Linked DNA regions of Homo sapiens: all the other regions are linked to region 1. The links are contacts of gene promoters, found by promoter capture Hi-C in blood cells and fetal thymus (Javierre and others, 2016). All regions are on one chromosome and are shown on one strand. Each heading gives the region's core, a stretch centred on a gene start or on the middle of the fragment in contact. The rest is flanking DNA. Distances are from core to core; before and after follow the strand shown.

Region 1 (5,168 bases), core at 1,654-4,153:
TATTTACATTTGTATCTGTGCCTAGCAATTAGTATAGTGCCTAATACCTGGTAGGTACTCAATAGTTGTTTAACAGATAAGTGAACCAAATAAGATACTGCCTTTCCCTCAGTGGTGAGAACAGTTCTAAGCTGAAGGTAAACGTTGGTGGTACTTTTGCACAGAGGTGGAGCAGGCCCCTGCATAAGAAGGGTGCTCTGTCTTACAAAATGTGTCTTGGCACAGTTTTGGAGCATTTATTAGCCTCACAGATGCATTCCAATCACTCCCTCTGATGTAGTGGCATTTTGCTTGAGGCAACTTCCATGTTGCTGGTGGGACGCTTTGGCTATGAGGGGAAGAGTCTTATCTACAGGCTGTGAAGAGGGCTGCCTGTCTGGATGTCACTCAGTGTGGCTAGATTGGCCAGAAGCTGGGTCTGTAGGCAAGGGTTTAGGGAGGAGCCCACCTTTGATGTCCCTCTTTTTAACTTGGGGCAAGTTGTGATCTCAGGTTCTTCCTGAAAAGATAAGGTACTTTCTAAGATACCTTCTCTTAAGCTACAAACAGTGCAGGTCTTCCTCTTAGAAGAGGTGTGTTCCGTAAGGGGAGAAGGTGTGCCCTCTGGCCTCCCCTTGATTTTCAACCCCAGCCCCAAGGCACTGGTAGTGGAAGTTAATTGGGTGCAAGGGGCTTGGGTAAAGGCTGAAGACTGGTGAAAGGAGAGAGCCAGCTTCGTTTTTTAAAAAGCTCTAATTGAGTTCTGAATCAGCCTCACTCCCTTTGATCCCTCCTCTGTTTCCCACACTGCCTGAAAGAGCTAGATCAGCACTTTATAACAAGGGTGCGCCTGCTCCCCGCACCGCCCCCCGCTCCTGACGCTCTCTGCTGCCGCCATCCACTGCTTGTCTCCTTCAGTTAAGATAATGAAGATGCTGAGAGATAAAATGTGTATTTAATAAGGGTGGGGGTAGGGAGGCGGAAAGGGGCAACCAGGGCCTTCCCTAGTTTGGGGCCTCGCCAAGACTTAAGCTGAAAGCAAAGCTAGAGTAAGACTTGGCCCCAGGGTGTGGGGGTTTCTGGGCCTCAATCCAGCTGACTTCACTGCCTGCTGTTTGCCCTAAATTCCCCCACCTCCACCCTCTCACCCCCACACTGCTTTCTTCTTGCTCCCAATGGGAAAAAGGACTCTTGCTTCAACTTTCTTTTCAGCTGGTAACTTGGCCTTTGGTGCGGTGCCCCCCACCCCAGTGTCAGCTGCAAGGTCGGGCTAGGGCAGCCCCCTCTAGCCTAGGCCTGTAGAAGCTGTGGGTTCACAGTGGGGGGTGAAAAAGCTGGAGTTAATGAAGACCAGCTGCTAGTCTGGGTTCTGCCTACAGCTAGCTGGAGGCCAGCCTTTGGTGGTGGTTGATGGGGGGGTGGGGTGACCTCCATCCATGGGCACAAGGATATCCTGTGGCAGCTAGGCTTGTGCTTCTCTCTGAGCTTAGTTTTATCCTTAGTTTATAAGAGAGTATCTGTTTCCTTCCCCTACTCCTCTCCTCCCCAAATAACACTCAGCTCTTATTGAACTTTATAACTGTAGTGGTGGCCCAGCTGAGATCTGAGGATCTCCAAACCCTTTTGTAAACACTCATTAACTGCCTGGGAAGAACGAAGAGCCCTGTTTAACAGCTGGGAGAGAACTGAGGCACATTAGGGTGAAAGGTTTGACCTAAACTCACCCCATGGACTCCACCCTGGGGCCTTCCATCCTTAGTCCAGCTCCTTTACTCAGTTCTTCCTGCAAGACAGAGGTGGAGGCATTGCTGGTGTCTTCTCCCCTTCTAGGGAGAGGCCATGCCCTCTCCCCTCAAGTCTGTCGCTGACTTCCTCTGGCCCTTCCCCTCATGACGTTTTCCCTGCTCTGCTGCTAGAGATATGTGCAACTCTCCTTGCAAAATGTTCTCAATCCACAACTTCAGAATTCTTATCCAGCTTTCTCTTGCCCATCTAGCCCACCAAACCTGAATTCTCCCTTTTGAGCTACTGAGAAGACTGGCTATACTAAACTGAATCAGTGACCTTGAAGTTGATCTGTTGTATTGAGGTCCCTCTGCCCCTATATTTATCCTAAATGGTATCTAGGAAAATATTCTCTCTTTAACTTGTTTATTCTGGTCATAAAGATTCGGGACATTACTGAGGGCTGGGTAGGGGCACTAGTTGACCTCTAGGTTCTACGTCCTGTTCTTCCACTGACAATTACCATTTCCAGTAATAGGTGTAACCCAAAGTTCTTTTTTGTTTTTTTCTCCTTCCCTAACCCCACCTGTTTATACTCTTGCCTATATATGTGTATTTGCAGACCCCACACATTCCCAGATACACATACATTGGTCCTACATGTTTCCCCTGTTTCCAGCTGCCATCTAAGTGAGCCTGCACTTTTTACATGCTGAAAATCTTTTTTCACCCTCTATGGCCTCCTAGGTCCTTGGGAATAATTGGGAGGGATGAAGGGACTCCTGCAGTCCATGAGGAAGAGGACAGAAGTGAGCGCCCAACCAAAATGAATGCTCCCTTTCCAAAATCTCTAGCTGAATGCCTTAGCAGGAGTGGCAGGGAAAGAGATCTTAACCCCACCTCCAGCACCAAAACCTAAATCCATCTGCTCAGGGCAGGCAGGAAGAAATGTCTATTTTCTCCTGTTTCAGGTCATCCTATCCTCGAGTTATCCATATGCTGTGTATTTGAGACAGGGAACTGTTCCTGTCCCCAGCCGATGACCAGACGCCCATCTTTCTTCCAGTGGGTTACTTCTCCCCCATCAGTCCTTCGCTCTGCGCCCGCTGACCCAGTCGGGGCTGGCTGGTGGAAGAGGGCGGGGAGAGCCTTCTAGTTGGCGAGTGGGCTTTAGGACCCAACGGGAACCCGTGCCTCTTGCAGCAGCCTAACCCAGAAGCAGGGGGGAATCCTGAATCGAGCTGAGAGGGCTTCCCCGGTTCTCCTGGGAACCCCATCGGCCCCCTGCCAGCACACACCTGAGCAGGTAGGACCATGCACACCCCTTCCCAATTCTTTGGCCGCCTTTGACCCCGGCCTCTGCTTCTGATCTAGCCATTTCCTTCTCGCCAGTTCTGGCTTTCCCCATCCCTCCTCTCCCGTCGCTCACTGTAGTCCTGGGAGGTGGGAGCCTGGGAACAGTGGGGTGTCTGAAAGCTCAGAGCCCTCTGCACCCTCCAGCACCCTTCCTGCATTTCTCCTGAGGCAGTTCCCGTTCTCTAGATAAGAGTGGGGAGTAGGGGGAAGGTCTGCCCAGGCCCCACGCCCTTGCACCCTCCTTTGCGGTATTGCCTAATACCCCTTCCCCCACCTCACCTAGACTGGAGAATTGGCAAGTGCTGAGGTAACAGAGAGAGGAGAGAGCCAGAGAGGGACCTGAGCTTTCCCAAGGGATTTCTTTCTTGCTTCCTCACCCAAAGAGCTCAGGACTTTGCCCCTACTCCCTACACACCTTGTAGGGGAACTAATGTCCCCTTCCAGGTTCATCTCACACTTGGGTGGCTAAAGGCTTTGCTAGAGGGTAGTGGAGGTTGTGAGCATTTTGGTGAGCTTTTCCTCTAGGAAAGTTCTTTCAGCTTAGAGCCCCCATCCATGTCAACATTTCAACACCTGCTGCAGAAGCCCCCCGACCCCACCTGTGTGTGTGTGTGTGTAGGGACAATGTGGTTGTAAGATCTAGAAGCTTTGGATAGAGGTGGCTGCATGCATTGAAGGGGAGGGATACCAGAGTGTGGCCCAGGCCAGAACAGGCTCAGTCCAGATGGCTAGGGAAGGGGGTGTGGACCAGATTGAGGAGGTCACCCAGCCTTGCCAGCTCCCTGAGCTTCTTGGCTTTCAGAATCTCAGGCTCCTGGTGTTTCTCTAGAGCTACAAGGTCCCCAAGCTTCTGCCCCGCTACAGGCTCTCTGGGAGAGGGCTAGATGGCACCTACTGTTTACAGTGGCTTATTTTTCTCTCCTGTGGTGGGCAGACAGGCCCTGCTCTCTGAAGATCTAGGGCGTGTCATTCTGGTTTGGTGGGTTTACAGGAAGGGTGTACACCTTGTCTGACTTACCATGTGTGAGTGTGTGTCTTGCTTCTGGGGGTAGTAGACTGGGGAGGGGGGTGATAGAAGAGACTGGTCACACTGAGGGAACTCCTCTAGCAATCAATGTATGATAGGAATGGGTGGCATGTCCCCATCTGGTAGCTCTGTCTAGGTGTGGGGTGTGCTCTGCATTCTTCCATGGCTCCCCGGGTCCCCTAAAGGTTGGTTTTAGAGGACAGGGTGGATAATGAATTGGCTTCAGACTTCGTTCTGGTCTTGATCCAACAAGGAAAGTAGAGATTCTGACTGTGAGCAGTGAACTAGGAATCAGAGGCCTGAACTGGAGACTTAGACTGGTTACTTAACTATATGTGTTTATATAGGTCTTCCCCTTTGCTAAGCCTTAGTTTCTCCATTTGTAAAAATGGCTATCAGTAGCAAGCAGGGACATTGCCACTAAAACCACAGAGACAATGTATCGTAAAGCTCACTGCAAACGGTAGTAATGGCTGGGGGAATCTAGGATGGAATCCTCTTCCTAAATCTAGGTCAATCTCTCCGCCTTTAGTTTTCTTCCCCCATCCTTTGCCCATCTGGGGGATGGAGGAACTAGGCAGGGCTATTGCCCCGGTTACTGCAGAATTCCCCTAATGCAGGTTGTAGCTGTTACCAGAGCACCTGTGGTCACAGAGTACAGATCTCTCCACCAGGCATTTCTTCCTCTGGGGCCCCATACTTGCTCCCCTGAGCCATGTCTCCACCTTCCTTCTGCCATCCCTGCTTGGCGTCCTTGTCTCTCTCTCCCCTGCCCAGTGGCCTCCTTGTCTGGCTCACTGGGCAGGAGCCCTAATCGGATTCGACAGCTGAGATATGTGTGGCGGCTAAGAGCAGGCAGGAGGGAAGCCAGTGGGAGGATGGTATGAGGACTGCCCCTGGCACTGCCCCGGCCTCCCAAGCACCACCTTGGGCCTGCTGATTTCTTACTTGGCTTGGCCCCAAGGAAGGGGTGCCAGAGGAAGCTCAGGAATGAACAGGCTGGGGTCTGGAGACTAGGAGAGGAGGAAACACACCAAGGTCCTCAGGACCTGGTTGATATTCGATGACCTTAATGTCAGTG
Region 2 (5,168 bases), core at 1,038-3,537, 240 kb before region 1:
TTCCAGGGGTGGGGGTGGGGGACACAGAAGGAAAGCCAGTGAGGTGGGAGCCTGCCCCTCAGTGCTGGCTTTGGCTCCAGGAGGGGGAGGGGATGAAGGGGGCTGTTGTCCAAAATGAGGGGGGAAGCAAAAGTGACACGCAGACACAGAGATATGTCCACACAGACAGCCACATGCACATCCAGGGACACCCAGGCAGACTCAAGGACAGGAGCTACTGGACACACCCACATGGGGACAAGGGAAGAGACAGGCTGCTGCTGCACCGTGGAGCTCTGAGGGGTGGGATATACCCATGGGAGACCAAGAGCATGGGGACCGATCCATGCACATACCCACGCACAGGGTCACACGTAGATGCTGTCACACACTGGGGCAAGGAGGAGTTGCTGTCACCCACACATAAAAAGTCACTGTCACATGCATGCATGCACACAGAGCAATTGCACACAGCAGCACAATTACAAAAGACCCTGTCACTCACAGGCACACACGTGCTCGCATGAGCCCAGTCACACAGACATCATTGCTTGCCGTGACAGTCGCTGTCACTCAGTCAGATGCAAACACAGTTACACACCAACACATGTATACACAACTTAGCAACAAGTATTTTCCTGGACTCTTTACTGTGGAGCTCTGAGGTTCTGTAGGCAACAAAACCCTTGCTCCCAAGAATATTAAATTTGGCTGTATGAAAAAGTGTTCCTGCGTAATGGTGTAAAGCATGCATTCCCAATGACATGTTCTTGGTCTCTATCGCTTGAGATACCACCCTACTAGACAGTGAGCTCTTGGAGACCTGGGAGAATCACTTAAAGAGCTCTGGATCCCACGCAGAGCCTAGCACAAGGGCTGCTCTGTAAATACTTGTTAGTTGATTGACTGTGGAACCTGCAGACACAGGTGCACTCATTTGCACATGGTCCCCTGAACTCAGGTGCAGAATGAGTTCACAAGGCCCAGGTCCCCACAGTTGCAGGTCCACACCAACAGTCGTGTCCACACAACCCCAGATACACACAACTGCAGCCTGTGCAGCCGAGCACACACTTAGATGCACACAATCACAAATTTTTCCCCTTCAGCTTCCTCCTCCCCTTTTTCCTCTAGGCTCAGCCACTGTGCGGGAATGGGCTGTTTTTTTTTTCTTTCTTTCTTTTAGAGGGACAGAGAAACAAGAGCAAAGACAGTGGGTTCAGGGGGGTTCCAGAGGGCCGAGTCATGGGCTCAAAGCAGTGTCCAGTGACTTCTAGAAGCTAGGATTCTCTTGACTGTTGGGGAAGGGGAGAGCTGCTCTCCTCCCTACCCTAAAAGCTCAGGGGTGTCTAACTGCCCCTGCTCTGAGTCATTTGCCTGGGTCTTTCCTGGGAACAGTCAGTCACTTCCAGCTGAGTTCCTGCGCCCCACCTTGAGTCTGGCCCTTTTTCCCACCTGTACCCTCCTGTCCAAACTTGGAAGCTTTCCTTAAGAGGCCATCGGCTGGCGAGTGTCTGTGTGAGTGATATGTACTTTTGACTTGGAATTTCTCTCTAACTCTGTCTCTCTGTTGCTCTGTCTTGCAGTGTCTGATTCTCCCTCTCTCTCTCCTTGTTTCTCTGCCAGTCTGTAACTCTCTCTCACCCTGTTGCTACCCCCGATCTACCCCTGTCCTTGTCTCAGAGCTGGGGACTGGCAGCAATGTTCTTCATACTTTTCCAGTTGTTAATACCCAAGCTCCGCCCCTCTGCCCCCCCTGCGCAGCCTCTGGGGTCAGCTTGAGGTTGGGGTGGGGGGCGGGGGGCTCAGCTGGCTGCTCAGGACTTCCTGCACTTCCTTAGTGCCGCAGCTGTGGCCAGCAAGTTTTAGGGGCTGGGAATGGGGGAAGGGGGGGGGGGTCAGCCACTGCCCATGCTGACCCCTCGGGCCTGCATGTCTGGAGACACCAGTTCTGTGGGCACCCTCAGGGTGCAGGCTGCAGCCAGCTAGCAGCTCTTAAACAAGCCATGAAGAGGCTCCCCCCACACTGGCCCAAGCTGGAAAAGAACCGCCCCCATGGGCAGTGGCGGGAGCTGGCAGGACCCTGCTGAGTTGGGTCCACTGCAGGGCTCACAATGGCCTTTCTCCACACCCCTGGCAGCTGAGGCCCACCTCAGAGATGCCCAACAGCTGTGTCCTTTTTGCCCAGCCTCAGGGCCTGGTTCTGAGGGCACAGCTGCCTAGACTAAGTATGTACTAAGCGAGGCCCTCCCACCCGTGAGTGCAGGTTCCAGCCTAGAAGGGGTACCTCTTCTGGAGAGGGAATTTGAGGAGGGGGAACTCAGGCAGGAGACATCGAGCCCGGGGGCACCAAGCACTTCTCGCTATGCTCCCCTCTAGCCTTGGACTATTTGGAGGTGGAGGCACTTGGCAGAGAACCCACAGGGCAGCTACAGAGGGGAAAGACTGAGGCTTGGTCTCAGGGAACACATAGCTGGATGAAAGAACAAGGCATTGGGCCGGGCACAGTGGCTCACACCCGTAATCCTAGCACACTGGGAGGCGGAGGCAGGCAGATCACCTGAGGTCAGGAGTTCAAGACCAGTCTGACCAAGATGGTGAAACCCCATCTCTACTAAAAATACAAAACTTAGCTGGGTGTGGTGGCGGGGTCCTGTAATCCCAGCTACTCAGGAGGCTGAGGCAGGAGAATCGCTTGAACCCAGGAGGTGGAGGTTGCAGTGAGCTGAGATTGTACCACTGCACTACAGACTGGGTGACAGAGCGAGACTCCGTCTCAAAAAAAAAAAAAAAAAAAAAGAAAAACAAAAAAGAACAAGGCATTATCTATCAAGCAGGTGATATACCATCACAGCTAAGAACAGAGATGATGGTGATGATCATGACGGCCATGATTGACCTGGACTGCCTAGGTCTGAATCCCAGCTCTGTCACTTGCTGGATGTGTGACTTTGAGCAAGCGATTTAACTTCCCCGTTGCCTCATCTGTAAATTGGGGATGATCATATCTACCTCATTTAGCTTTTTTGAGGAAAAATGTTTTTAAAAGTGCCTAGTTCATAACAAACTGTATATGTGAGCGGTTGTGATGGGTGAAGGAAGCTGTGGGCCTGGGGTCTCCCAGATTTCTTAGAGAAGCTTCGTGGAGAATTGGGTCTCCTAGACATCAGTGAGACTGGGGCCTGGGGCAGTGGGTCTCCAATTTCCAGCCTTCTCACCGTCATGTAATCTTTTCCTCCCAGACAAATTTTTGCAGCCTGGAATGAGTGTATGGGAAAGAGCCCAAGGCAGGCCCCTCTGCCCCACCCTCCTTTGACCCTCGCCCTTCAGCTTACAAGGAGCCCTTGGCCCCTCAGCCTGGGACACACCCCACCAGCTAGGGGCACCTGCATAAATCTTTGGGCATCACTGCATCTCTGTTCAGGGTCTGAGCTCTGGGGGTGGGAGAGAGAGAACAAGGAAAGCCGTCCCCTCTCTTATGTGTGGGCTCAAAGAGGAGGCAGTGCCCTTCCTCCCTCCTGGGAGCCCAGCATTGGTCAACCAGGACCCAGCTCTGGCTGATAGGCACCAGATTCCCCTGCCCTCCATGGAGTGGTACTTAGTGTGAAAGGTGGTGGCAGAGAGAAACTGAAGCACTGAGTAATGACCAGTGTGGTGGGCACAGCACTTTGAGATCCAGCATCTGTCCTGGGTTGCCTCTTTGCCTTTGTGAGTCTGGTGATCAGGATCCCCTCTCCAAACCCCTTTTATTTAGCCCTGCCCCTCAAGGTGAAGGAAGGACAATGGGAGGATACCCTGTAGGGGTGACGGGAAGCCTTTGGAGTGGGAACCAATCTCAACTCTAGTTCTCGGCTGGGCACAGTGGCTCATGCCTGTAATCTCAATATTTTGGGAGGCCAAGGCGGGAGGATCACTTGAGGCCAGTAGTTCATGATCAGCCTGGTCAACATAGTGAGACCCCATCTCTAAAAACAACTTTAAAAAGTTAGCCAGGTGTGGTGGCGCATGCCTGTGTTACCAGCTACTTGGGAGGCTGAGGCCGGAGGATCGCTTAAGCCTGGAAGGTCGAGGCTGCGGTGAGCTGTGATTGTGCCACTGCACTCTAGCCTGAACAACAGAGTGAGACCCCCCACACACACATCCTCTCAAAACAGACAGAAAACAAAACAAAAAACCCAACTCTAGTTCTCATGGCTGCAAAGGTGTCTAGGGGACTTTGGAGAACTGTTGTGTCTCTTGGGGAGGGAGGCAAGCATGACCGTGGTGGGAAGATCACTGGCTGGGAGTTGGGAGGCCTGGCTGTTGACATTCACTAGTCGTATGACTTTGGGCCTGGGTTTTCATTATCTAGAGACAATGGTTCCTGTCTCACTCAGGTTGAGGGCAAATAACACAAGGTGGGATGACCCCTGTGTTCAATCCATGTTGCATCCTGGCATGGTGAGCAATGCCTGTGGATTCTCCTTTTTTCCCAGGGCCTGGCACATGCCAGGGTGGGGCATACACATGCTGCCTGGAACCAGAGACAGTTCTCAGTCTCTCACTGAAGTATCTGGGGCTGGTGTGTGGTGGGGGCACATGTGGTTCCACCTTGGTGTCACTTGGCAGGCCAAAGCTGGGGTCATAGGGACCTCCCTCCGGTATGCCATTGCGTGAGGTGGTCCAGAGGGAGGGTCAGAAGTTTGCTGGGTAGACAAGGGAAGCAAGATGGGTGTTACTGGTGCCCAGGAAATACTATCCTTGCTTCGCTGTTTTGGGGGTGGGCATTAAAGGTTGATACCAAAGCCTCAGCCATGCCCCTCAGCAGTGGCCAAGAGCAGAATGATTGGACCAAGCCCCTGGCCCACCTCCTCCTCCTCCTCTTTTCCTCTTCTAAAGAAGAGATCGGCTCTTGGCTCCCAGAGCCCCAGCTGCCTGTTTCTTTTTCTCTTTTACCAGGCATGGGGGTGGGGAAACAGGGGAACCGAGGCTTTGGTGTCTTTCGGCATTTTTGTACACATCAGTGAGTGGGTGTGTTGTGCACGCATCCATGTGAGAGTGTTTTTGTGCATGTGTGGGCTGGGGAGGGCTCTGAATATCTCCTGGAACGGTACCCAGAGCCCTGTGGCTCTGCGCATGCGGGGTGAGTGTGTGTGTCTGCACGTGTCCGTGTGTGTGCCGGAGACTCAGCTGCATTCACGCGCGCGCTC
Region 3 (5,168 bases), core at 1,631-4,130, 200 kb after region 1:
TGTGCGATCCTGCATGGCCCTAGGCCCAAGGTGAGCTCATGGGATGAGTCAAGCCTCCTGCTGAGCCTGGCAGCTGAGTAAGAGGACATGCTGTGCTCTCACACCTCCCTGGCCCCACCGCGGCATGCCCACCTTTGTCTTCCCTTCTGGGGTTTGGCTTGTTGTCACTGACAACATGGGGCAGCCCTTTTGCACACGGCATCCCTGGAGCCACGTGTTAACTGTGAGTTAATAAATGGGTGTTGTTTTAAGCCACTAAATCTGTGGTCATTTTTTATATAGAAGTAGAAGATGAATACATACCATAAGTCTAAATATTCAAAAGTCATAAGTCAAGCTTACAAACTGTTAATAAAATATGTTCTATCCATCTACCTTGATTTTTTTTTAAAATAATGACTGTGAAGGCCAGGGTCAAAATCATAATTCTCTGACAACTAGGAGTTCTGTGCCAGGAGGTAGCTGCCTGGGGAGGGCTGGCCCCTGGATCCCAGTCCCTCGCTGGTGGTCTGGTCCTTTTACCTTCTCATTCCTGGCTTCATCCTGCACCAGAAGTTGGGGGACAGAAGAGCCTGGAGAAGCCAAATTCTAACCGCTCTCCTTCAAACAGCTATCCCTTGGGCCCAGGGTGTGACTTGCTTTGGGGAAATTAACCTGGAGAAGAGTTTCAGGGCTGTATGGGCAGGAATACCATGGTCCTCCATGGGCAATGCATGGTCTAGAAGGGAGGCTGTGGTTCTGGTGACATCCACTCGGACCCACAGATTCTTCATTCTATGGGGGTGACCAGAGCAGAATTCCTCTATAGCCGGGGACCCAGGCCAAGGGCCTTTCATTTTGTCCTTTTATTGTAGTAAAATATGTATGACATCAAATTCACCATTGTGAATTTAATACATTCACAATGTTGTGCAACCACCACCTCTATTTCGGTCCAGAACATTTTTATAGCCCCAAAAGGAAACTCTATACCTATTAAGCAGTCACTCCCATCTCCCTCTCCTCCAGGCCCTGGCAACCACTAATCTGTATTCTGTCTTTATGGCTTTACCTATTCTGGATAGTTGATATAAATGGAGTCACACACTATGCAGCCTTTTGTGTCTGGCTTTTTTCACTTAGTATAATGACTTCAGGTTCCTCCATGCTGGAGCTCATTTCAGCAGCTCATTCCTTTCTAAGGCAGAATAACATTCCATTGCACGGATAAACCGTATGTCCAGGGGCCTTTCCTGCCAGGATCAAAGATGGTATTGGGCTGGGGCTTGGGAGAGGTCAGCTGGTGACTTTACCTCTTTTTCTTTTTCTCCTCCATGCCTCTTGGGGTTTGTCACTTTAGAATATGCTGCTGAGGCTTGGGGACCCAGGGAGACAGCCTGTCTCACCATGTCCCCTAGTCTTTGCAACCTGATCCTGAATCCTGCCTGGCGGTGGCGACAACATCAGACAGAGCTGGAGCTGGTGTGACCCCATCCCAGGAGGATGCTCCTATTTCGGGGATCCCAGCTGTCTCTGGTCAGGGTGCCTCAGCAGAGTCTAGGAAAAGCCAAAGCCCATCTCTGGTGACAGCTCTGAGGTCCGACAGTGGGGAGAGGTGGTGGGTGGGGGGAAGGAGTTGGGCTTGCTCAACTGCCGTGCCTGTAGGGCGGAGGGAGTCCATCCTGGCACGGGGCACAGCAATCGGACCCAAGCCCAAAGAGATGCTTAGCTCTTCACTTGTGGAGCCTATTTTCCAGAGAAATTTAATTCCACATTGTTTTTTCTCTGCTCTGCAGACGCCTCGGAGTTCTGTGCCAGGAACCGAGCTGAGGAACTCAGCTGAGGAAACCACGGGAATCTCATTTGAAGAGGAATTTGGCCCCTGGAGCCCCCTCCCCACTCACTGGTGGGAGGGTGCCAAGACTTCAGTCGCCGCCGCCACACCAGCAAACCCCAAACCACAGGAATGCAATGGGGTCACCTGGGGACAGAGGGAGATGGATGGACAGCGAGTAGGCAGTGAGCCCTTGGGCCTGCATCGCATGGGGTCTGCTATTTTGTGACAAAAGCACTGGACTTGGTCCCCAGGCCTCGGTGTGGATTCAGGCCTCGGTGTGGATTCAGGCTTGCCACTCGGGTCATGGGGTCTTGGGTGGTCACGTCTGTGGCTAACCACGCTCACCTGGCCACTCTGGCCTTTGGACCAACTCGGGCAAGGAGCTGAGCTTGACGGGGAGGGAAGCCACGGATTGGGGTGGACGGAGGCGGTGAGTGAGAGTAGAGTGTTCTGGTCTCCAGGCTCTGCAGGCTGAGCAGGGGAGGCACCCAGCACTTGTTACCCAGGGAAAGGAAACTATGTCGATAATGATTTGTCAGCTATGGGTCAAGGACTGCTCCAGGCACTTTTTTTTTTTTGAGACGGAGTCTCGCTCTGTCACCCTGGCTGGAGTGCAGTGGCGCAATCTCGGCTCACTGCAAGCTCCGCCTCCCGGGTTTCACGCCATTCTCCTGCCTCAGCCTCCCGAGTAGCTGAGACTGCAGGTGCCCGCCACCATGCCCGGCTAATTTTTTAAATATTTTTAGTAGAGACAGGGTTTCACCGTGCTAGCCAGGATGGTCTCAATCTCCTGACCTCGTGATCCGCTCGCCTCGGCCTCCCAAAGTGCTGGGATTACAGGCGTGAGCCACCACGCCTGGCCCGCTCCAGGCACTTTATATAATACATTGCATTTCTCCTTACGGTGGTCCTCTGGTGTGGCTGGCATCATTCTCTTTTATAGACAAGGAAACCAAGAAAGGAGAAGGGGACTCCCCTAGAGTAACAGGTACCAGGGGAGGGGCTGGGCAGAGGGTGGTCATCCCCGAATGCTGAGTGCTCCACACCATGCCACTGGCCCCCGACTCAGTCCTCAGACTTGTTCCTTGGTGAGATCACAGTTGAAATAATAGTTTTCTTCCCCTTAACTCCTCCTAGTTAAGAAAGGAATCATAGTATTTTTGAGCTGGAATGGACTTGGGTACAAGTTACCATTTTACAAACGGGAAAATTGAGGCTCAGAGAGGAGAAGCAGCTTTTCCATTTGAATCTTCAAATGAGATTCCCGTGGTTTCCTCAGCGGAGTTTCTCAGCTTGGTTCCTGGCACAGAATTCCTAGGCGTCTGCAGAGCAGAGAACAAACAATGTGGAATTAAACTGCCCTGAAAAATAGGCTCCTCAAGTGAAGATCTAGAAGACCTTCCTGACTTTTATCACCCAGGAAGATAGCAGATCTAGCTCCAGATGCTCTCTGGCCATTTGGGCCACATGGGTAGAATCCAGGGTCCCTGAGGCCAAGGCTGTCTTTAGTGCCCAGTGGGACAGAATCTCCTTGCTCTGCCCAGGTTCCACACCTGTCTGTTGGTGTGACCCTGCATCCAACCTGAGAGGCCACTGATGGTTTGGTGCACCCTGTCCCCACTATTATAACCCTGCTGGGAGGGTTCAGGAGTGCCATGTTGGTAGATGAAGCACTGCTCTATTTTGTCCCTCACCTTAACAGGCACATGTCACCTGTACTTGGTGGCTCTATCCAGCAGAAGGAGAGAAGGTGGGAATGAGTGTCATCGTGGTTCAGACACTGTCCAGTGGGGTCACCTTAGCTTAGTCACTTCATATATGGAGGGATTCCTGGGAGCAGGCTCTGTGCTAAGGTGCTGGGGAAACAAAAATAAAATAATGTCCCTGTTCTCAAGGAGGAGCTCACAGTCTAGTGGAGAAGGCAGACCTGCAGTTTAACGATGGCTATTTCATGATGTCCTTGCTCTGCCGAGGAGGAGGTGAGCAGCACAGTGGGAGCACGGAGGGAATCAGGACCTCCGTGCTCCCACTTGCTAGAGGAGGCAGGGCTGAGATACAACGAGAAGGGTTATTTGCCAGGTGGACAAAAGCAGAGGTCATTGAGTTTAGAAAGTGGGTTCAGGTTGGGTGCAGTGGTGCACATCTGTAGTCCTAGCTACTTGGGAGGCTGAGGTAGGAGGATCCCTTGAGCCCAGGAATTTGAGGCTGCAATGAGCTATGATGGTGCCACTGCACTCAAGCCTGGGTGACAGAGTGAGATCCTGTCTGAATAAACAAACAAAAAGCAGCAGACTCAGCAAGTGCAAAGGAATGAACATGTGGCAGGGAAATGTGGAATAACTTGGAAGAGTTGGATAATACAAAGTGGCATGTTGGCAATGATGGTGCGGGGATGTTAGGCTGGCGAGGCATTGGGAAGCATGAAGGATTTCAAGCAGGGGATGGACACAACCAGATCTGTGTGTTGGAAAGTCTGCCTGGGCTGCCCCACAGAGGGCATGATGGGGGTGGGGAGGACACCTGGAAAGCTGATACCATGATCTGGGTGAGATAGGGTGGGGTAGGGGAGTCACCCTAAGGCTGGGCAGTGAGAGAAGTAACAGGATTGAGGGATTGTGCTTAGCTGGTTTGGGCTTGAGTGACTGGGTAATTGGGGGCACCATCCATCCCAGTAGGGAAACAGGAGGTATGTAGGTTTAATGGTGAGGATGGAGATGCATATGCATTAAGTTTGAGGACCTGATGATTTGAGGTGCTCATGGGACATCCAAAGTGAGATGTCTGAGGGAGAGCTGATATAAAGATTTGGAGGCCAAATAAAAGTTAGGGCTGTAGTTTGATATTTGGGGCTCATCATCCTACATCAAATACAGATGAGTTAAGGGGCCACAGAATGCTCTGGAAGCTGCACAGGATGACTTTGGTGCCCTGTGCATCCACCGTTGGCATTCGCTGTTCCCCTGCATGCTGAGGCTTCTGCCTGCATCCCTGCAGTTCTGCCAGAGGCCTTCTCTGCAGACAGAAGCAGGCTGTCTGTCCTGTGCATGGGACAGGTTAGGAGTGTTGTGGAGTTGATGACCCCAGGAGCAGCCTTCAGCCAGTGACAGATGCGAACTGGATGATGAAAACCATCTTTACTTCCTGTAGGTGTGTTCTGCCATCTCTCAGGGGCTTCCAGTGGGATTGCGTTTGAGTTCCCAGTTGCCCACAGGGGCTTGTCAGTCCTCCTCCATTGGCTTCCTCCCCCTTTCTGTGTCACTCTTCCATTTCCCTACAGTGCTTCCTGGGATCACCTGCCAAGTCAATGAATCTCATGCTCATCCTTGTCTCAGAGTCTGCTTCTGGGGAACCC
Region 4 (5,168 bases), core at 682-3,181, 200 kb before region 1:
CAGGGCGTAATCAGATTTAGTTTGACTCAGAGTAAAAAGCATTTATTGAGTGCCTCCTGTGTGCAGATTCTGGAAATGCGGGCAAATGGCACAACAGTAGTAGGCTAATGAGTAGCTGAGATCTCAAAGAGGAGTGGAAGGTACTGGGTGAGGGGAGAGTGAAAGAAAGAAAAGGTTAGAATTTTATTTGTTTATCCTTTCTCCATCTTACCTACTTTTCTTCCTGTCCCGAGGCTCCTATTAGAACAAATGATTGTGGCTTAAATTGTTTTGAGGCTGGAGGTAGAAATTAAGCCCTTATCTATTTTTGCTGGCCATGGGGACCCCAAGTTAGTTAACAGCCATAGGCTCTTGACTTCCCATGAGTAACTAAAAGAAGATGAGGACCATGCACACAGGCACACACAAACACTCCCTGCGATCTCAGATGCTAGGGTAGGGAGACCAAGAGAAGGAATGAAGTCCCAGAAGGTTGGAAGTTCCCTGGGTAAAATGAGTTTAGCAGATAACAAGCAGGAAAAGTCTTTCAATAGGGGAGGGCGGGGTCATCCCTGGCCTACTCCACCTTCCTGAGACCCAGAAACTGTGGCCAGAGGAAACAAAGGGTCCCTAAGGCAAATCACAAAAGCTCCTGAGAATGAAACCTGAGCCTGGAAAGAGAGTAGAGAATGAGGGATGGACACCAGATCCAAAGGGTTCCCTTACACAGGCAAATGGGGGTTAGGGGGTTGGGAGGGATGTGAGCCATGCCCAGCCCCTCTCCTTGGGCCTTCTCTCCATCACAGGCAGTTCTCAGGAGCAGAACTCCTGTTACTGTCTCAGTCTGAGCAGCTGACTCCTGGCCTCTCCCTGCTTCATTTTTTGAGGAATAAGCTTTTCTCTGATTCTCACAGAGCCCTTTCTTTTGCTTCTCTGCAAGGCTTTCTCTCTGTGCCTGAAAGGCTCTGGGCTCAAGGAGCAGACAGCCCTGCAGGCTCAACTGCAGTGACCTACATTGGCTCTCCCCTAGGCCCTGGGTGCGGGGGCTGAGATTTCAAGATAGGAACCTGGGAATCTGGCACAGGTCTACAGATGATGACATCAGGCAGACAGGCTGCAAAAGTGGCATTGAGGGACTGGACCCTGAGGCAGGGGATGCCATAGGACTATGTTCTCACTTTGTCATTTGAGGGCTTTTTATGGACAAGAGATCAGAAGAGATCAAATGCAAAAACACCTGAGCAGTGACCCCTTGGAGAGGAGCCAGTGGTCCCTGACAGGCCCAGTCTCTATTAATGAGATTTGGGAGTGGTTTCTGCCTGCTCCCTGTTCTTGCTGAACCTACACTGGTCTGCTGCAGGGGACTGGAAAGATGATGTGGAAGAATGAGTTCGGATTTCAGCTGATTTATTTCAGGGAAACGAAGGCTGGGTAAAAGTCAGATATGCAGAAATCCACGTACTCCCAGGCTTAACTATAATATAGAGACCCTGTATTTCTTTAGACTCAATGGTTCTGAGAAGGATCCAGAAGGAGCCCTCAAGATTAATTACCATTTACAAAGTCCTTACCTCAGGACCCTGGCAACTGAATCCCTCCTTCCAGCTACCAGCCTTCTGGAACAGAGAAGGCAGCTTCTGAAATAGGTGCTTTCCCTCTCTCCCACTATAAGCCACAGTGTTTAGGATGACCACTGCTTCCAGATTGTGTGATTTGCCCTGGCAAGGAAATCCTATTGTGGGGGGAGGAAATGAGGCAGTCGTGACACAAAGTGATGGATGAGCCTTTTGCTTAGCAGAGAGAGAGAGAAAGCCGGCAGGCTGTGCAGAACTGAGTGGCTCTTGGGTCCAAAGGGCTTCCCCTTGGCCAAGTCCCACCCCAAAGCCCAGGAAGTCCACAGCTTGGCGCCCAGTCAAGGCAAAAACATTCCTCAGGACTCTGACAGGCTGGGGGATGGTTCCCACCACGAGGATGGGGGAGGGGAAGGAAACACGCGGGGGAGGAAATGACCACAAAGAAGGGGGTGAGGGTAAGAGGTGGGGAGTGAGTTCTCAGTGCCCTGAGTCCCTTTTAGAGAGAAAGGTTGAGGCTGGACTCATTGGCTTGTGAAGGACTTGCAGCTTCAGAGCACATGACTTCTGGGTCACCCTTCTGCTCAGGGTCATCCCTGATGACCCAAGGTGTCCTCTGGAGGCTTGTTAACTCAATCTCCCTCCTTACGCAGGGGCTGTGGTTGAGCTTGGGAGCCCCTGAGTGGCTAAAAGCTGGAATTGCAGTTGTGCTGGGGGAGGAGCCCATCGGGTCTCCCTCTGCCTCTCCACCTCCGCCCCTCCCTTTCCCTCTCCCTAAGCCCAGGACTCTGGAAATAGCACCTGGTAATGGGAGCGCTGACAGATGCTGAGTTATAGGAGAGCAAATGTCCTGGCTAGAGTCCTCAACATTCTAGTTTGATCGCTTTTGGGCTGTTTCCCTTGAAAACACGTGCCCCAGCAAGGATTGAAAAACTACCTATTGGTACTATGCTCACTACCTGGGTGACAGGTTCAGTCATACCCCAAACTTCACCATTACACAATATACCCTTGTAACAAACCTGCATATGTACCCCCTGAATCTAAAATAAAAGTTGAAATACACACACGGAAAAATAGGTGCCCCAGGACTACTTCCATTGTCTTCCATAAATTACTGTTTAACATGCCCCTGGGTAGTGTGCTTCCTGGCTACTGAGATCCCCCTCCTAGGGCTCCCCGGCTTGTAGCTTCTGGACCATTCACTGTCCATGACCCCTATGACCTTGGAGGGAGAAATGGCCCCACAATAATTCTGATTTTAAATTTACCCCTCCCTACCTGCACTACTTAGTCCTAGTTTTCCTCCTCTGAGCCTTGCCCACAACTCCTTCCCCAAGTCAGCCTCCAACCTTGAATGTTCCCTCACCCCCAGTTCCCTACCCAATCCCCCAATCCCACATCTCCTGTAGGGGATAGGAGTGAGGTGAAAAATGGACAAAGCTTAGAAATTTTTCCAAGGAAACTAGTTCCCTCTGCATGGCTTCCTTTGACCTATTTTCTAACTTTCCCTGGTTAGCCCCCTTGTTCCATGTACCAAGGCTTCCCACTGGACTAATTTTTGCTGCCCCGCCCTACTCCTCCTTCCTCCAACATGATCTCCTGGGGCTCTTCCCATCCAGGGAAAATGTTCCCCAGTGCTGAGAGAGGGAGAGATTCCATTTTGGAAACTATGTCAGCTTGAGGAGTCCGAGCTCTTAAAGAGACAACTAGAGTGTTGCTGGGGAAGCGGGTAGTGGTAGTGAGCAAAAAGCAGCTCACCCACCCAGAGGAGGCCCTGTTCCCATCACCCAGCCCATAATTAGGGCATTCTTGGCTCTTGTCTGGAATGGGAGGATCTGAGTGCTCTGCCAACATCATGAAGAACTCAACGGGAAATGGAGTTGGAGTAGAGGTAACCAACTTTGCAGCTGGAAATTAAAATTTTATTCAACTCCACCCCCAAGTAATTTTATTTGATGACATCCTTCTCTTGCATTTGTCTCATCGTTTGATTGTGTAATCCTTAGCCAGGGAGCTATGTAGATATGAAATCATTTTAAACAGAGGCAGCTGCATTCCCCTATTGTACCTGAGCCCTCATCAGCTTTCCTCCTCTCAAGCTGCTGCCCCACATTCACCCTGAAGGGGGCACTTTTGTTCAGTCGTTAGCTGGTGCCAGCTGAAAGCGAGCTCCAGGAAGGAAACATAACAATTGGTCACATGTTGGGGTGAGGGTTCTCGCAGGGGCTGCTGGGACAGGGAAGGGAGGTCCACGTGGAGTGGGCGGAACGCGCTGAAAGTTTTGGCGGGGCTAGCAGAGGGAGAAAAATACCCAAATTTGAGTTGTGATTTTTAATAGGGGGAAAAAAAAAAGGCAAGGAGGGTGTGTCCTACCCTCTGAGAGGCCCCCGCAGAGGGGAGCAGGAGAGCAGCACACTAGCATCCTGCTCGCGGAAGCCTGGAACGCAGGACATGGTTTCTGCCAGAAAGAGCTGAGCCAGGCCAGGCTGCGGAGCTGGAAGCCTCTGTGGCTCCACGCTGGCTTCCCATCCCCCATCCTCCCGGAGAAGGCAAAGGTGGCCTCTCCAACTGTGGTGTCCTTTCAGTGTCACAGGACTGGGGTAATACCAGTCACACAACTCCAGTCTCTATTTACCTTTCCGAGAGCTTCAGGAAACCACCCAGATGAATCCTCTTTCCCTGGGGAGTGGCCAAAACAAGTCTCCTCTTTTTTCTACCTACTTCTGCCCCACTGTTAGCTGGAAAACGTAGCTTTATACAGTCATAAAGCTGCAAGGGACCTTAAAGATGATTTATTTCCATTTTATTTTTTGGTCTGGGAAAACCAAGCCCAGTCAAGTGAAAAGTCTTGCTGCATCCTCTTTCCACGACATAGGCATTCCCTTCAAAGAATGTAGGTCATAGAAATGGAATTCTGCCATTCTATAAGCCTTAGAGGGGTGGTGAAAGTATTGGCTTTTAACTCTTTCCATACTCTTAGCCAGAAGGCAAAAAGAATGGTCATTATCTCATTAGGGACAGAATTGCTTAGGGAGGCCCGACACTGTGGCTCAATCCGGACACGGTGACTATAATCCCAGCATTTTGGGAGGCTGAGGTGGGCGGATCACCTGAGGTCAGGAGTTCGAGACCAGCCCGGCCAACATGGTGAAACCCCCGTCTCTACTAAAAATACAAAAATTAGCCGGGCATGGTGGCAGGCGCCTGGAATCCCAGCTACTCGGGAGGCTGAGGCAGAAAAGAATTGCTTGAACCCAGGAGGTGGAGGTTGCAGTGAGCCGAGATTGCACCACTGCACTGTCCAACCTGGGTGACAGAGCAAGGCTTCGTCTCAAAAAAAAGAAAAAAAAAAAAGACTTAAGGACTTGATTTATGGTCCTAAACACAGTTTTCCTAGGCTCCCTCACAGCTGGCAACTCCACTTTGCCCCTCTGGGCCTTTGAGAGCTCCCTTCTTTACATTTCTTAGTTCAGGGATCACCACAGCTTAAAACTTAATGGTTTGGAAACAAGAATTCCTTTCCCTTCTTAGAAGACCTTCTCTTCTCAGGTTTCAGTTTTCTGGTGGTTTAGCCAGGTCATCCTGTGTATTGAGATCAAGATCAGACCTCCAATC
Region 5 (5,168 bases), core at 153-2,652, 180 kb after region 1:
TCACCCTCCCTGTGACAACTTCCCTTGGGTGAGGAGATGCAGTAGGGGACCCAGGCCTTGGAATCAGACAGACCCAGGCTTCAGATCTGGCTCTGCCACTTATTTTCTGAGAGAGTTTGGCCAAAAGACTTCACCACCCAGGGCCTCAGTTTCCACACCTGTAAAGTGGGGCAACTGCATTCAGCCTTTTGGTGATACAAAAAGGATGAAGTGAAACTCATGTAGGCAGCACAGCACTGTTCCCGGCACAGACCAGGTGCTTAAAAACTGGGCAACTCTCTCCTTTGTCTGTGCCCTGTTCCTAGGTTGAAATGGCCACTTGATGGGTTGTACCAGTGACACTTTCTGATGCCTCTGCTACTCAGGATGTGTGAAAGTGGTTTCTCTGAGGCTGGGCGCGGTGGCTCACACCTGGAATCCCAGCACTTTGGGAGGCCTAGGCGGGTGGATCACCTGAGGTCAGGAGTTCAAGACCAGCCTGGCCAACATGGCAAACCCCATCTCTACCAAAAATACAAAAATTAGCCGGGCACCTGTAATCCCAGCTACTTGGGAGGCTGAGGTACAAGAATCGCTTGAACCCGGGAGGCAGAGGTTGCAGTGAGCCGAGATTGCGCCACTGCACTCCAGCCTGAGTGACAAGAGTGAAGCCCCATCTCCAAAAAAAAAAAAAAAAAGGAAGTGGTTTCTCTGTACCTGCAGTGAAAGCAGGGATTCTCAAGCTTGGTTACACACTAGACTCACCCCAGGCTGCGCCTTGTGCCAATTAGATTAAACTCTCCAGGGGGTGAACCCAGGCCTCAGTTTTGTTTGTTTTCCAGTTTTTCAGGTGAGTCCAGTAGACCATGAATGGCTCAGCAGGACCACATCACCTGGGCTCCACCCCTACAGAAACATAATCTGCATTTTAGCGAGGCCACCCAGGGCATGTGAATATGCAGTGGAGTCTGAGAACCCTGCTTTGGAGCAGGCACTCCCTGAGCACAGGGCTTGCTGCATTCTTGAGCTATGGATCTCCTGGGGATGGTAGCTGGTACACAGGGGTCACCCAACACACCCCAGGCTGCCGACGCGCTCCAGCGCTCTTTCCACTCCCTGGTCGGGGCATCCAGGACTCTTGGGATTCTGAGGCCTTGTTCCTCTCCCGAGGTCGGCCTTGCAGTGGGCTGCTCTGAGGTTCTCCCCAAGGTGAGGATGAACACCCTTCCTCCTGACCTGGGGGAAGGGAATTGTCCTTGGTGCTGTTCCAGCAAAGCTGGAGGAAGGTGGGGGTTAATGAGCCGCTCCTTTCTGAAGAGTGTGAGTCTTGCCTCTAGCTTCCTGGGATGGAGGCTGGGGAAATTGGGGAGAACGTGCACCCTCAGCTCCCACCTGCCTGGGGCCCTGGCACATGCACTGTTCCTCCCCATTATGACTGTGGAGCCCCAGCCTGCCCCAGCCCGCTCCTGGGTAGGGCCATCTGGCCCTGCTCACAGTTACTGCCTCTGTCTGAGCTTGCTTGGGCCACGGTGGGGGTGGGGAGTTACATCAGATGAGCAAGGGCTGGCAGCTGACTGGGACTTGCTGCTCAGCGGGTGGAGGAAGAGCCTAGCTTTGTAGCAAAACAAACCTGGGGTGAGTCCTGGCTTTGCTGCTTTTCAGCCAAGGGCATTGTGCAACTTTCCTAACCTCTCTGAGCCTCAGTTTCCTTATCTGCAAAGTGAGGATCTGAAACCAGTCTTCCAAGGTTGTGATGAGGATGAAATACAATAGCCGGGAGCCTGGCCCATGGTGAGGCTCGAGAGAGGAGCATTTCCTACCTGCCTGCTTTTTGGGGACAGTATTGGCCAAATGGAGCCCTTTTCTGGCTAAGGTGGGGATCTCTCTGCTTAGAAAGATGACTGCAAGAAGAGAGTGTTTGGGGCACTGCATTGTGGGCTCTGGAAGAAAAGAGATCTTGGAATGGGTTGGATTCTTCTGGAAGGCTGGAAAGCACAACTTCAATTTTTATAGGACTTTATAGTGTTTACACCCATAATCTCCTCTGAACCTTATAATAGCCCTTGAGCAGGGCAGGCATTATTTTTTACAGAGGAGGAAACTGAAGCTTGGAGAAGAGTGGGGATGGAGCTAACACTTAGTGTACAACGATGTTTCACAGAGACTGGTCTTTATTGAGTGCAATGTGCCAGGACCACTACGAACACATTGCTTGTATTAGCTCCTTTAACCCTCATGACAACTCTGTGGAAGTAGGGGATATTATTAATGCCCATATAACAGATGGGAAATCTGGAAGGCTCAGAAAGGTGAAGTGAGTTATCCAATGCTGCACAGCCAGGGAGTGTTGTTGAGCTCTGTTTAGGGACTGCTTCTTCCAGGATGAGGAGGGGCTCCTTGGGAACCTGCTCCAAGGCCTTGCCCTGTGAGAAGGTGCTTGGCTGCTTTGGGGAGGGTCTCTTGGCACAGTGAAGCTCTGGGCTCCCTACTCACTGGGCCATTGAAACATCCATCAGGGACCTTGCTGGGGTCACTGAGTAAGGAGAGCGGGAGGGGAGGGAGGAGCCCCGTGCTCACCTCAAGGTGGGTGTGGCTGGGGGGTGGGGTTGGGGCCTCTACCCATTGCAGGGGTGCAGTCGCTGTTTACTGGCCTGTGGGGCAAGTCTGAGCAGTGCTGGGTGGGTGCCGGCGCCAGCCCCAGGCAGGCGGGTGAGTGGAGGGAGGGCGTGTGGGTGAGGGGTGGAGAGATACTTATTAAATACCCTTCACTTGGGGCGGGTAAACAGCCTTGCCTGGCAGACATTGTTGGAAAATGAAAGTGGGGGGCCTGTTCCAAAGATGGGGTGCGGGGTGTTGGAGAGGATAAAGAAAGGGATATGGTGTTTGCTTCTAGGAACCACATTCTCTGTGGGATGGGGGCCCCCAGGGCAAGTTTAAAGGAAGGCAGGGGCAGGGAACCTGGGGAAGGTTTGTGAAGCACCCAGGAGGTCGCGCCTCAGAAGAGGAGCCTGCAGGCTGCCTCCAAACGGATGGATTCCGTGATGCCCCAGAGGGCAGAAGACTAGACTTTAGAAAGAGAGAAAGGACAGTGGCCTATGGAGCCCAGAGCCTGGGATTTGAGGCCTGACCTATCTCTCCCTGACTGTGTGACTGTGAGCCATCACGTACCCACCCCGAGCCTCAGTTTCCTCATCTGTAAAAGGAGGTTTCCACTATTTCCTTCAAAAGCCAGACACTGGGATCATGGATTACATGGAGTCTTTTTTTTTTTGAGACAGGGTCTCACTCTGTTGCCCAGGCTGGATTACAGTGGCGGGATCTTGGCTCACTGCAGACTCCACCTCCAAGGCTCAAGTGATTCTCCCACCTCAGCCTCCCAATAGTTGGGACTACAAGTTCATGCCATCACACCCAACTAATTTTTGTATTTTTAGTAGAGATGGGTTTTCGCCATGTTGGCCAGGCTGGTACATGGACTAGTTTTTTTTTTTTTTTTTTGTTTTAAGCCTGGGCTGGGTGATATGGCTCATGCCTGTAATCCCAGAACTTTGGGAGGCTGAGGAAGGAGGATTTCTTGAGGTAGCCTGGGCAACATGGTGAGACTCCATCTCTACAAAAAGTTTAAAAATTAGCCAGGTTGGCAGGGCATGGTGGCTCATACCTGTAATCCCAGCACTTTGGGAGGCCAAGGTGGGCGAATCACCGAGGTGGACGAGGTCAAGAGTTCAAGACCAGCCTGGCCAACATGGTGAAACCCCGTCTCTACTAAAAATACAAAAAAATTAGCTGGGCATAGTGGTGGGCACCTGTAATCCCTGCTACTCAGGAGTCTGAGCTATGAGAATCGCTTGAACCTGGGAGGCAAGACTCCATCACCCACCAAAGAAAAAAAAAATAAGAAATTAGCCGGGCGTGGTGACATGTGCCTGTAGTCCCAGCTACTGGGGATGCTGAGGTGGGAGGATTGCTTGAGCCCAGGCATTCAAGGCTGCAGTGAGCTATGATCACACCACTGCACTCCAGGCTGGGCAACACAACGAGACTCTGTCTCAAAAAAAATATGTATATATATTTAGGGGAAATGTCAATATAGAATTGCCAATGTTTAATTTTTAAATTCTGCCAAGTTAGGACAAAAAGGAAAAGTAAACATCTCCTAGCACGGTAATGTCAGAGTGTCTTTCCTTGAACAGCCCAAAAGTAGGAAGGATGAGATTGTAAAATGGCAGGGGATCCTCCACTCTGAATACATTTCGAGGTAAGAGAACTCACCACAACGCTCAGAGTTGTACACTGCTATAGGCCAGTGAGAGATTTGTCACCAGCAGTAGGGTCTGCGGGGAGGATTTTGGGTGCAGGTGTCTGCTGTTCTTAGTGATGGTGGAGAACTTCCCAGTGGGGAGCTGACCTGGCTGGGTTGTCTTAGGAGGTAGTGAGCTCCCAGGCATTGCAGGTGTCCAGGCAGACGTTAGAGGAAGAGATTTTTTTTCTCCATCAGAAGGGGCCAGGGCACAGAGAGGCAGCTTCCTCAGGACCCTCTGGCCACTGCCTGCCTTACATTCCCTGTTCCCCAGAGTTGGGTGGACACATGTTCACAATGGCATGTGGTGCCCAGGGCATCTGTGGATGTGGACCCATGCCATCAGCCCTAAGCTGATCATGAGCCCCTTCCGTGGAGGAAGGGCCTAGTTGTCACCAACCCCCACCCAACATTTGAGGACGTTCCACAGGGACTGGTTTTGCCCCAGCTGGCCTTGGACATGTGGAAATCCAGTCCTGGGGCATGAACGGTAAAACCCTGGGCTTGCTCCTGCCAACAGTAATTAGGCCCAAGATGCCTTTCCTGCAGTGACATGCCCATGACTGACTGGCCTGAAGAAACAGGAAGACCCTTGACGGACAGTTTCTTTAACAGGTCTGGCAGGCAATGCTTGGTGAGAGGGGACAGAGCAGGCAGGAGCCCAGGAGCCCAGGAACCCTGGGTGCCAGAGGGCCTGGGTGCTGGGCTGGCCTCCACCTCAGAGCCCAAACCTGGGGCTAGCCCAACGTGCAACCCCAATGTTTAATAAAAACAGCTACCATTTAGAATGGCATATGGTGTGCCAGGATTTGTGATAAGCAGCCAAAAAATGTAATTTCTTTCAATCCCCATAACACCCTTTGAGGTAAGAACTCTCATTATCTCCATT
Region 6 (5,168 bases), core at 1,633-4,132, 140 kb after region 1:
CACTGCAAGCTCCACCTCCCGGGATCATGCCATTCTCCTGCCTCAGCCTCCCTAGTAGCTGGGACTACAGGCACCCGCCACCACGCCCGGCTAACTTTTTGTATTTTTAGTAGAGAGGGGGTTTCACCGTGCTAGCCAGGATGGTCTCGATTTCCTGACCTCGTGATCTGCCCGCCTCGGCCTCCCAAAGTGCTGGGATTACAGGCGTGAGCCACCGCGCCCGGCCTTCTTTCTTTCTTTCTTTTTTAGACAGAGTTTCCTTCTTTCACCTAGGCTGGTGTGCAGTGGTACAATTCTAGCTCACTGCAGCCTCCAACTCCTGGGCTCAAGTGATCCTCTTGCCTCAGGCTCCCGAGTACCTGGGACCACAGGTGAACGCCACCACACCTGGCTAATTTTAAAATTTTTTTGTAGAGACAAGGTCTCACTACGTTGCCCAGACTGGTCTTGAACTCCTGGGCTCAAGTGATCCTCCCGCCTCAGCCTCCAAAAGTGCTGACATTACAGGTGTGAGTCACTGCTGCAGGCCCCTCAAATCCTTCACTGCCATCTGGGAAATGATCACAACAGCTCTACAAATACACAATGATTACAAGGAATGGTGCCCCACTGGAGTTGTTCAACGCAAAACTTGCACATTGCAAGTGGCAATCTCCCAGGCCTGCCTCCCTCCACGAGTGGGTCTGAATGGGCCTGAGAGGCAAACATCCAAGAAGGAGGAAGAGGCTCGGCGGCACCTCCCTCCCCGGGAGTTCTGCTGATTCCATCTTGGGGAAGCAGGGTGGACCAGGGCCCAAATGCGCCCTGGGGAGATTGCGGGGGCGGGAGAGGTTGCAAGGGGCAAGTGGCAAGAGCCTGTTAACGTCTTAGGGCCTCCAGGCCTTTCTGTGCCCCTAGCTGTGCCTGTACGCTTTACCCCACCTCAGGAGGCTTGGTCTCCAGCGGTTGAGGCTGGAAGCACCGGGGTGCGGTGGAAAGGGCTCTGTCCAGGAAGACCGGATCCGCAGAGCCGGGAGTCCGGGCTAGGAAGTCCCTTTCTCGGTGGGAGACTGAGGCCGCCTTGGCGGGGCGGGACGAGACTCCTCCGAGGTCGGGAAAGGGGGCCCCGCAGCAGCCCCTTGGCTTCCCTTCTCCCTTGCCTCCCCTCCGGGGCTCCGGTTCAGAGGCACTCTGGGCGCCTGCTACAGCTTCCAAACTGCGCCGCTTCCTTCTTCGGCAGAAAAGGACTTTCAGATGCGGCGGCGGCGGCGGCGGCGACTCAGGACAGCGCCCCCTCCCCCTAACGGCCGCCTCTCCCTCTCCCCCTCGCCCGCCCCGGCTCCCCCACCTCTGGGAAGGCGCTGGGGGTGTGGCCAGGGACCGGTATAAAGTCCGGGGGAGCCGGTCCCGGGCAGCCGCTCAGCCCCCTGCCCCTCGCCGCCCGCCGCCTGCCTGGGCCGGGCCGAGGATGCGGCGCAGCGCCTCGGCGGCCAGGCTTGCTCCCCTCCGGCACGCCTGCTAACTTCCCCCGCTACGTCCCCGTTCGCCCGCCGGGCCGCCCCGTCTCCCCGCGCCCTCCGGGTCGGGTCCTCCAGGAGCGCCAGGCGCTGCCGCCGTGTGCCCTCCGCCGCTCGCCCGCGCGCCCGCGCTCCCCGCCTGCGCCCAGCGCCCCGCGCCCGCGCCCAGTCCTCGGGCGGTCATGCTGCCCCTCTGCCTCGTGGCCGCCCTGCTGCTGGCCGCCGGGCCCGGGCCGAGCCTGGGCGACGAAGCCATCCACTGCCCGCCCTGCTCCGAGGAGAAGCTGGCGCGCTGCCGCCCCCCCGTGGGCTGCGAGGAGCTGGTGCGAGAGCCGGGCTGCGGCTGTTGCGCCACTTGCGCCCTGGGCTTGGGGATGCCCTGCGGGGTGTACACCCCCCGTTGCGGCTCGGGCCTGCGCTGCTACCCGCCCCGAGGGGTGGAGAAGCCCCTGCACACACTGATGCACGGGCAAGGCGTGTGCATGGAGCTGGCGGAGATCGAGGCCATCCAGGAAAGCCTGCAGCCCTCTGGTAAGGTACCCCTGGCCTCCCAATTCCCTCCTGAGTGCGCTCCCTTCCCAGCGGCTTCTTCCCCATTCCAGCCGCCCTGGAAGGCCCTTAAAAATCCCCTATGAGTTGAAGAGAAGGCAGGTACGTGGCAGGGCCCGACTGGCATGGGACAGGCTCATCAAGGAAACTGCTACCGAGTCCCTAGCAGCCTGTTGCCACCACCAAGGGAGACTGTCCCATCGCTCCATCTCAAACCTCCAAGGGTTGTCTGTTTGATAAGGGGGTCCCAGTGGGAGGCCTGGCTGCTGGTGCAGGAGTGGCAGATTAAGGTCCAGTTAAGTCAGCTGTCTAGGGCCAGAGAACTGGAGGATGGTGGTGGGGTGTGTGTTGGGGAGGATGAGGGAGTGGGGAAAGCTTTCTGTTCCTGATCCAGGCCGAGGGTGAAATCCCAGTGGTCTGGGGAGCCAGGGCCTGAACTTTTTTTTTACATGGTCCAGTGGTGGAGTGGGACATACAAATTAGAGGGACTTTGGCGTTGAGGGGCATTAGACTTGCCCTTCCCCAAAGCCCAGAGCCAGGTCACCTTGTTGTTTGAGAGGCAGTGGGAAGACAGGGGTCCCTCTGCCAGGCCTGGACACCTCTGCCTGCCCTGGTATACAGGCCCCCTGTTCTTTTCTCCAGGCAGGTAGGATTTGAGGTGGTAGAAAAGTCTTGGCTCCTAGCCGAGAGCTGCAGGAGCCTCATGTGTGTGGGATAGGGAATAGAGAAGGGGCCAGGGCGCCAGGGGAGAGAAACAGAGAGAGAGAGAGAGAGAGAGAGAAACACACACACACACACACACACACACACACACACACACACACAGAGACAGAGAGAGAGAGAGAGAGAGAGAGAGAGAGAGAGAGAGAGAGAGAGAGAGAGACTCTGAGAAGGCCCTTGCCCTAACCTCATTCTTACACTTTCTTTTTTTGTTTCTCAGTTTCTCCTTAGACTCTCAGTCTCTTTTCCTTCTTTCTCTTGCTCTTTTGTTCTTCCTGATTTGTCTCTCAACCTCTAGTTTCACTAGTCATGCTCTCGAGTTCTGTTTTCCTCAGTGTCTTCTGCCCATCGTGCGTTTCTTTCTCCACCTTATTCTGTGTTTCTGTTTCAGTTGCTCTGCTTCTCTCCCTCTCTTTCTGTTGCTGTTTCTCTGTGTCTCTGTCACTGTTGGTCTTTCCCTGTTACTTTGGGAATCTCTCTGTCTGTCTTTCTGTATCTATGCCTCTGTTTCTCATTCCATCTCCGACCCTGTTTTGCTCTCCTGTGCCTCTGTCTGTCTCTGTCTCTTTTCCTGGTGCTTGAAGCTTCCATTGTTGCAGTCCGGATGCTGGGACTCCAGCCCCAAGCTTCCTGTCCTGGGACCCAAACCCTCCACTTCCTCAATCCTCTGCAGCTTGTCAGCCGAGGAGAGCAGGATGCAGGGAAAACAGGAAGGAGGTGGACTCCAGGGGTCTGGGCCTCGGGCCTCTCTGCCCTTCCTGCCCCTGGGTAGGGAGAGATGGGTCAGCAGAAAACATTCTAGGAGAAATGCCAGCCTGGCACCCAGCATATCTGGGAAGGGGGGTCCTGGGGGAGAAAGTCGCTAATCTTGGGGCAGAGATGCCAGTGGCAATGGTAGAGGAGGGGTACTGAGACTGGGAGGGAGCAAGGGCCGAGCCCTTGGGTTCGCGGGGTACAACAGAGTCACGTTCCCTTTGAATCTCCATCCTCCACCAGCCAGAGGGTATCTGGCACCAGATAAGGATGGCTGGTAGCCTCCTCCTCTCTCAGCACTTTGAATGCAAGACAGAAGAGCCCTCAAAGGGCTGGGTAGGAATACCTCATCCTCTGGTTGGGTAGGAATACTCCATCCTGTAGTGGAGGAAAATAAGATCCCCTAGGGGTTTGGGGAGGGCATGGCATGAGAATTTTGTGGTTGTCCTCTGGATATAATGCAAACTGGCCTCCAGGAATATCTAGGGGCTGGGTGTGGAGGTTCATGCTTGTAATCCCAGCACTTTGGGAGGATTGCTTGAGGCCAGGAGTTCGAGACCAGCCTGAGCAATATAGCCAGACCCCCGTCTCTACAAAAAAAAAAAAAAAAAAATAGGCAACTGCAGTGGCTCATGCCTGTAGTCCCAGGTATTTGGGAGTCTGAGATGAGAAGTTCAAGGTTACAATGAGCTATGATCACGTGATTGCACTCCAGCCTGGGCGACTCTATTTCGTAAAAAAAAAAAAAAAAAAAAGTAGGCCGGGTGCAGTGGCTCACACCTGTAATCTCAGTATTTTGGGAGGCTGAGGAGGGTGAATCACCTGAGGTCAGGAGTTTGAGACCAGCCTGGTCAACATGGTGAAACCTCGTCTCTACTAAAAATACAAAAATTAGCTGGGCATGGTGGTGCGTGCCTGTAGTCCCAGCTACTTGGGAGGCTGAGGCAGGAGAATCACTTGAACCCGGGAGGTGGAGGTTGCAGTGAACCAAGATTGTGCCACTGCGCTTTAGCCTGGGTGACAGAGCGAGACTCTGTCTAAAGAAAACAAAACAAATAAACAAAAAAAACAAAAAACGGTGTCTTGGAATGGGGTGGCTTTAGGTCCCCTTTGGATGACACAGCCAAGGTCTGTAATGCCCCTCCCCCTTTCCTCCTTGCCTTGTCCTCCAGCCTCCAGCCATGCAATGGATGCAGGTATCTGGAGAGAGACGAGGGAAGCCTGGAGGTACCTACTGAGCAAGCTATGCCCGTGCCCTCCCACACCTCCTAGTCATCATAGAAGTAATCCCTTGCTGTGACCTGGGCCACATGGCACCATGTAAAAGGCACTCTCTAGAGTTCTGCTGCAGCCCTGCAGGGTCTGTGGGTGAGATAAGACGACCAAGCCCCTACCCACCCATCTTTTTAGCCTTACACAGTCAGTAGGCCACTGTCTGCTTTAGGTCCCAAGGTTTGGGCCCACTGGCCCGCGAATAGCTTGGTCGAGGGTACCTGTCTATTTTTTCTGCCTTTTCCTTTTGGGGCTGAGTGTCAGCAGGTGGCTGGGGGAGGGTGGCCACTTGGCATGCCCCCTTCTTTGGCTGCTATGGTCCAGCTGCCTCCTGTTTGCCCCAGGGGCAGATCTCCCCTTTCCGTCTCCAGCCACCCC

Evidence for each region. The method cuts DNA at HindIII sites, captures the fragments that hold promoters and counts their contacts. A CHiCAGO score of 5 or more calls a contact.
Region 2: a fragment that was not itself captured here is called in contact with the fragment with the promoter of RARA in region 1 in 1 of 17 cell types (neutrophils); the score reaches 6.1 in neutrophils.
Region 3: a contact is called between a fragment that was not itself captured here and the fragment with the promoter of RARA in region 1, in 5 of 17 cell types (activated CD4 T cells, total CD8 T cells, naive CD8 T cells and 2 more). The highest score is 6.4, in activated CD4 T cells.
Region 4: a fragment that was not itself captured here is called in contact with the fragment with the promoter of RARA in region 1 in 1 of 17 cell types (neutrophils); the score reaches 5.3 in neutrophils.
Region 5: a contact is called between a fragment that was not itself captured here and the fragment with the promoter of RARA in region 1, in 1 of 17 cell types (naive CD4 T cells). The highest score is 5.0, in naive CD4 T cells.
Region 6: a fragment that was not itself captured here is called in contact with the fragment with the promoter of RARA in region 1 in 4 of 17 cell types (M2 macrophages, monocytes, endothelial precursors and 1 more); the score reaches 6.3 in M2 macrophages.

Annotation. Positions count from the first base shown.
Region 1 is chr17:40,306,277-40,311,444 of GRCh38, forward strand. It overlaps RARA (retinoic acid receptor alpha), which reads left to right and starts at 2,904. Exons shown (of 9, transcript NM_000964.4): 1 at 2,904-3,010. RefSeq lists enhancers at 2,331-3,216, 2,596-2,765, 2,776-2,905, 3,217-4,100. The HindIII fragment of the contact is 5,393 bases long and covers 1-3,704 here.
Region 2 is chr17:40,063,907-40,069,074 of GRCh38, forward strand. The region is part of intron 1 of THRA (thyroid hormone receptor alpha); the gene reads left to right. Among named protein-coding and RNA genes, the nearest start is that of THRA, 3.5 kb to the left of the region's middle. The HindIII fragment of the contact is 1,656 bases long and covers 1,460-3,115 here.
Region 3 is chr17:40,510,368-40,515,535 of GRCh38, forward strand. No RefSeq gene overlaps it. Among named protein-coding and RNA genes, the nearest start is that of TNS4, 11 kb to the left of the region's middle. The HindIII fragment of the contact is 5,091 bases long and covers 336-5,168 here.
Region 4 is chr17:40,109,611-40,114,778 of GRCh38, forward strand. No RefSeq gene overlaps it. Among named protein-coding and RNA genes, the nearest start is that of MSL1, 9.8 kb to the right of the region's middle. RefSeq lists enhancers at 525-1,465, 3,922-4,141, 4,162-4,221, 4,252-5,039, 5,040-5,168. The HindIII fragment of the contact is 2,120 bases long and covers 872-2,991 here.
Region 5 is chr17:40,489,137-40,494,304 of GRCh38, forward strand. All of the region lies in intron 2 of TNS4 (tensin 4), which reads right to left. Among named protein-coding and RNA genes, the nearest start is that of TNS4, 9.9 kb to the right of the region's middle. RefSeq lists enhancers at 1,351-1,976, 4,341-4,842, 4,843-5,168. The HindIII fragment of the contact is 1,364 bases long and covers 721-2,084 here.
Region 6 is chr17:40,442,058-40,447,225 of GRCh38, forward strand. IGFBP4 (insulin like growth factor binding protein 4) reads left to right here and starts at 1,393. Exons shown (of 4, transcript NM_001552.3): 1 at 1,393-2,027. The coding sequence starts at 1,679. RefSeq lists silencers at 1,290-1,479, 1,490-1,539, 1,550-1,599. The HindIII fragment of the contact is 929 bases long and covers 2,419-3,347 here.